Regions from separate parts of the Homo sapiens genome. Here region 1 is linked to region 2. Evidence: promoter capture Hi-C in 16 types of primary human blood cells and fetal thymus (Javierre and others, 2016). All regions are on one chromosome and are shown on one strand. Each heading gives the region's core, a stretch centred on a gene start or on the middle of the fragment in contact. The rest is flanking DNA. Distances are from core to core; before and after follow the strand shown.

The links. Contacts are between HindIII fragments. The CHiCAGO score rates a contact against its expected background, and 5 or more counts as called.
Region 1: the fragment with the promoter of LINC01545 here is called in contact with the fragment with the promoter of ELK1 in region 2 in 1 of 17 cell types (monocytes); the score reaches 6.7 in monocytes.

Annotation. Positions count from the first base shown.
Region 1 is chrX:46,898,451-46,901,150 of GRCh38, reverse strand. LINC01545 (long intergenic non-protein coding RNA 1545) reads left to right here and starts at 1,447. Exons shown (of 4, transcript NR_046101.1): 1 at 1,447-1,547. The HindIII fragment of the contact is 5,808 bases long and covers 1-2,700 here.
Region 2 is chrX:47,649,194-47,651,896 of GRCh38, reverse strand. It overlaps ELK1 (ETS transcription factor ELK1), which reads left to right and starts at 1,334. Exons shown (of 7, transcript NM_001114123.3): 1 at 1,334-1,474; 2 at 1,871-1,976. UXT (ubiquitously expressed prefoldin like chaperone) reads left to right here. Exons shown (of 7, transcript NM_004182.4): 7 at 2-101. The coding sequence ends at 55. RefSeq lists a silencer at 1,150-1,559 and a cis regulatory region at 891-1,871. The HindIII fragment of the contact is 5,079 bases long and covers 1-2,703 here.

The sequences.
Region 1 (2,700 bases), core at 198-2,697, 750 kb after region 2:
TTCAAAATAAAATGCTTTCTGCTCTTGTGTAGGTTCAAGTATTTCAAAGCACCTACCATTTCTAACTCAAGGGAGAGTGGATTCATTAAACATTTGTGACATGAGAAAATGATTTCTACAAATGAAATACACATCTGTTCTTTGAAATCCTTCTCAGGTGTTAACTTCAATTGAATTGAATAACTAACTTTTTAAATCAATGAACGGAAAACAGTTTAGTGGAATTAGGTAATAGCATACACCCAATGAGTGAGTTATAATCAGTATAGCTTCCTTTTACCAGATGGCTAATGACCTTCATAGACCAAATACATGTTACAACTGATGCCATGGATCCGTAATATTGACACTCTCTCCATAGAAGCCTATCTTAGCTTGTGATTTATTTTCACAAAGAACAAAATGTTCACTGATGGAAGTTAAAATCAAAATGAAACACCAAACATCACTGTAGTGGTCAGTTTTGTTTTTTGTTTTGTTTTGTTTTGAGACGGAGTCTTACTCTGTTGCCTAGGCTGGAGTATGGTGGTGTGATCTCGGCTCACTGCAACCTCCACTTGCTGGATTCAAGTGATTCTCCTGCCTCAGCCTCTCAAGTAGCTGGGATTACAGGCACTCACCACCACGTCTGGCTAATTTTTGTATTATTAGTAGAGACGAGGTTTCACCAGCCTTGAGGCCAGGCTGGTCTCGAACTCCTGGTCTCAAGTGACCCGCCCGCTTCAGCCTCCCAAAGTGCTGGGGTTATAGGCATGAGCCACTGTGCACCTGGCCTGTAATGGTCAGTTTTATGTGTTAACATAGCTAGGCTATAGTCCCTAGTTTATAACTGGCTAACATAAGCCAGTTATTCCATTAAAATCTAATCTAGGTGGTGCTGAGAGGTATTTTGTAGATGTGAATCAAGTCTATAATCAGTTGACTTTATGTAAACAAGATTATCCTAGATAATCTGGTGGGCCTGAATCAATCAGTTAAAGGCCTTAATAGCAGAATGGAGGCTTTCCTGAAGAAGAAATTCTGCCCATAGACAGCAGCATTGGCTTGTGCTCGAGAACTCCTGCCTGTCCTTTCTGATGGCCTGCTCTAAGGATTTCAGATTTCAGGCTTGCCTAGCTAGCCACCACAATCACATAAGCCAGTTCATCTATATCTATACCTATATCTATATCTATATCTACATGTGTCTCCTAATGGTTCTGTTTCTCTGTTAGAATCCTGACTGATACAATCACTATCTTTATTTTATATATAAATCCATAACTTATATGCACTTAAGAAAAAAAAACTAATTTTCCCTGGATTTCATATTCTTTCTTTGGATTGGATTTTTCTCCATCAGAAATTTCAAAAGGGATTAAGAAAGTGTCTGACTCCAGAGAATGCTCAGCTTCAGAGACTATCCATAATTTTCTTTCTTTCTTTTCTTTCTTTTTTTTAGATGAAGTCTTGCTCTGTCGCCCAGACTAGAGTGCGGTGGTGCGATCTCAGCTCACTGCAACCTCTGCCTCCTGGATTCAAGCAATTCTCCTGCCTCAGCCTCCCAGGTGCACGCCACCATGCCTGGCTAATTTTTGTAGAGACAGGGTTTTGCCATGTTGGCCAGGCTGGTCTTGAACTCCTGACCTCAAGTGATCTGCCCGCCTTGGCCTCCCAAAGTACTGGGATTACAAGCATGAGCCACCATGCCCGACCCATAATTTTCCATATTAGAAGTAAACTGCCCCATGTGTGGCTTAGGAGAGAGTTGTTCCTCTTGGGAACCATCATCTAAGTGAATTCTCAGAAGCCTCTGTATTTAGCTTCCTGAAGATAGACGCACCAGGGCCATAGGAGACAAAAGCCCATGAAAACTGCTCCAGGCCTTCCTCTATGCTCTATCCAAGTCCATTCATAAATCCTATGTGTCTGTTGAGGTGCAAGAACCAGTTTTCAAAAAATTTGTGTACATTTAAGGGGTAAAAGTGCAGTTTTGTTACGTGGATATAATGCATAGTTGTAACGTCCAGGCTTTTAGCATAACCATCACCTGAATAATATACATTGTACCCATTAAGTAATTTCTTATTCCTCACCACCCTCCCATCCTTCTGAGTTGCCAATGTCTATTATTCTATAGTAGAACCAGTTTGTTTGTTTGTTTTTTAATCATAACATCAATAATTTTCCTTAATTCCTTCAGAAATTTCTTGGGAATACTTTACTTGTCTGGGAGACATTACCCAAATGATTTCATTCCACTGTTTCATTTTTGTTTTTGAGACAGGGTCGCCTAGGCTGGAGTGCAGTGGTGTGATCATAGCTTACTGTAACCTTGAACTCCTGGGCTCAAGTGATCTTCCTGCCTCAGCCTCCCAAGTAGCTAGGACTATAGGTACATGCCATTATGCCCAGCTAATTAAATTTTTTTTTTTTTTTTTTTTTTTTTGTAGAGACAGGATCTTGCCGTCTTGTCCAAGCTGGTCTCAAACTCCTGGTCTCAGCTAATCCTCTCACCTCGACCTCCCAAATCATCCCACTTTTTATCCCCCTGAAGAAATTTTGGGGTTACTTTTAGAAATGTTCTTAAATCTTTTCTCTCCCTTTTTTTAACTGCTATTTTTTTATTCATCTATTTATTTAAAACTGATCTTCCAGAAATGATTTAATGTGGCCTGTGATGATACAATTAAATACAGCACAAAGATAAAAACTAAAATT
Region 2 (2,703 bases), core at 85-2,584:
GGGGCTTAGAGAACTACAAGGCCTGCAGAATTTCCCAGAGAAGCCTCACCATTGACTTCTTCCCCCCATCCTCAGACATTAAAGAGCCTGAATGCCTTTGAGTCACATGGCCCTTCTTTTTCCCCATAAACCCTGCTAGTTGCCACGGGGGCCTGTTCCTAGGGCACAAAGTTACTGAGAGACCCAGAGATCCAGTCTCTCTGTGGAACCTCCAAAATGCCCCAGCAGTCCTGCCTCCAGCCTGTTGCCTGGCAGTATTTGCCAGTTGACCTTATGCACTGCCCTCTCTTCTGTCATCTTGGCAACCTGGGCCCCCCACCTCACCCTTTCTTCCATTCCTTTTCCTAGACGCCACCCTTTGAATTGCCATAGAGAATGGGCCAATTCATGGTGGAGGTTTGTTCATTCCCACAACAATCAAAGGGCCCTAAGGTTTACGCTTTCACACACCCAATCATTCCCCAGGTACCCCAAATTACACCCAAACCCTAACTCAGCCCTACCTTGTCTTAGCCCCTGCTTGTAAGTGTTCCAGCTTCCAATGGGCACAGACCTGGATCCCGCTCTCCCTAGTCGGGCCCCTATTCTAGGTTGAGTCCAGCCACCGCCAATCAATGCAGAGCCAGGTTCCTCCCCTTTTTAACTCTGGCCGCAGTTCAACCCTGCCCTCTGAAAGCATTTCGTTTCTGCCACTCAATGCTCTTTCGTGTGCCTGACAGCCATCCTGCCCTCCTACCTCCGCTGTGTTCTAAATTCGTCTTTACCCAGCTCTATGGTCTTGTCTAACCGTAGAGCTGCCCTGCCCGCCTACGCGGAGCCCAGTCCGACCCACTCCCGCCGGCTGCTACGCCCATTTCTATACAAGCCCTGCTTCCGCTGAGCAGCATGGCGTGCGACACCGCCCCCTTGGTGTTTTGGCAGGGGTCTAGAAGTCCCTCGTCCGCCAATCAGAGAAAAACAGGGCCACCCACCCCCGTCCTTGGGGGCTGTCTTCCATCAATCCCATGTAAGCCAATCAGTGTGAGGCAGACCCCCGCCCCCCCGACACAGGCCCCGAGCCTTTTCAGTTGCTCACAGTCCGTCAGTCCTTGAGCCAATCGGCGTGGAGCACCGTGAAGGCCGAACGCGCCTCCTCGGGACTCCAGGGGCCGTGAGCGTTCCATCATTTCCCCTTACGCCAATCACGGCACAGCTCTGTAGGGAAGGGCCCGTCCCCCAACCCCTCGAGGCCTTGCGGCCGATTAATAGCGCTTTGGCCAATCAGCGAGCGGCGGGACATTGGGCTCCTCCTCCTCGGGCCCACGTGAGCTGTAGGGAAACGCAGGGGCGGCTTCTAGGTGCTGCCGCCGCCACCGCCACCACCACCTCCACCGCCGCCTCGGAACCCAGGCCTGGGGGGCGGTGGGGCCGCGTATGGAGCCCCCGCCCCCCGGAGCTGCCAACATTGCCAACGCCACCGCCACGCTACACACAGGTGAGCTCTGGGCCTGGAGGGTGGAGGGCCCAGTCCGTGACCCCACGTATCCTTCCCGCCCCCGCGCAGAGGATGTGGCTTGGCCGGTGGCCTGCTGGTGTTCGACTCCCCGCCGCCACCACCACGGCTGGTGGACCTGCGTGTGGCATTGCTCAAGCCCTTCGTCCCTTATAGTGGATCTGACCGTGGCCTAACCTCCCCCTCCCGTTGTATAATGGATCGGTCTGCGTGCTTATGTTTTTCCCCACGCCAACTTAGGGTGGACTCGTCCATAGGCTTTCCCCCTACCCCTACCCCCACCCGCCCCCCACCCACCCCCACTTATAGGGAGCTAGCCTGTGACAGTGTTCAGCCCCCTTAATAGTAGGTGTATCTGAGTGTTTGGATTTCTCCTAGCCTCAACTTTCAGGAGACCCGTCCGTGGCCTTATTTATTCCACCCTTCCTGTACATCGTAGCGAATCAATCCGTGGCGCCGCACTCCTCCGCATCCCTCTTTAACAGTGAGTCTACCTGAGTTTGTATTCCTGCCTCCTCCAGTCCCCCAATGCATCAGTCCATGGCTTTTTTCAAAACCACCCCCCCCCCCCACCACCACCACCACCATTTTATAGTGGATCAGTCTTCATGTTTGGATTCACGTCCCTTTAGCTATCAGTCCATTGCCCTGTCTCCTCTTTTTCGTAGACTGTCGCTCTAGCGCTTGGGGTTCTCTCCTTTTTAATAGTGGGTTAGTTTAGTGCTTTACATCTCCCTATTTTCAGTAGCTCAGTCCATAGCCTTTTCCCTCTCTGCTTTGAATCAGTCTGTGTGATGGCTTTTCTCTCCTCTCACTGTGGTGCAGGAGTCTGTAAGGTTTTCTGCTCCCCTTCCCCTCAGACGATGAGCCTCATCACCCCTCCCTTTGCAGTGGATCTGTTCATTGGCCTTCCTCCCCCACACCCCTGTATGCTTGCACAGTCCCCCGCATACCCTCCCGTGAGTCCAGTGCTTTGTAATTGGGGGAAGATCGGCCGTGTACTTTCAATTTCCTTCTCTTTTTTTTTCCCTTCCCAGAAGAGAACGTGCTGATCCTCTTTTCCTTGTGATGGAGCACTGTACGGCCTTCCCTGTCCTCCACCTCTTAATAGTGGGTCAGCCTGGTCACACTCGTAACCACAAAGACGTTCTGCCTCACTACAATAAGTGAATACATTAGCGCCAGTGATGATAGTAATGCCAATAGGAGCT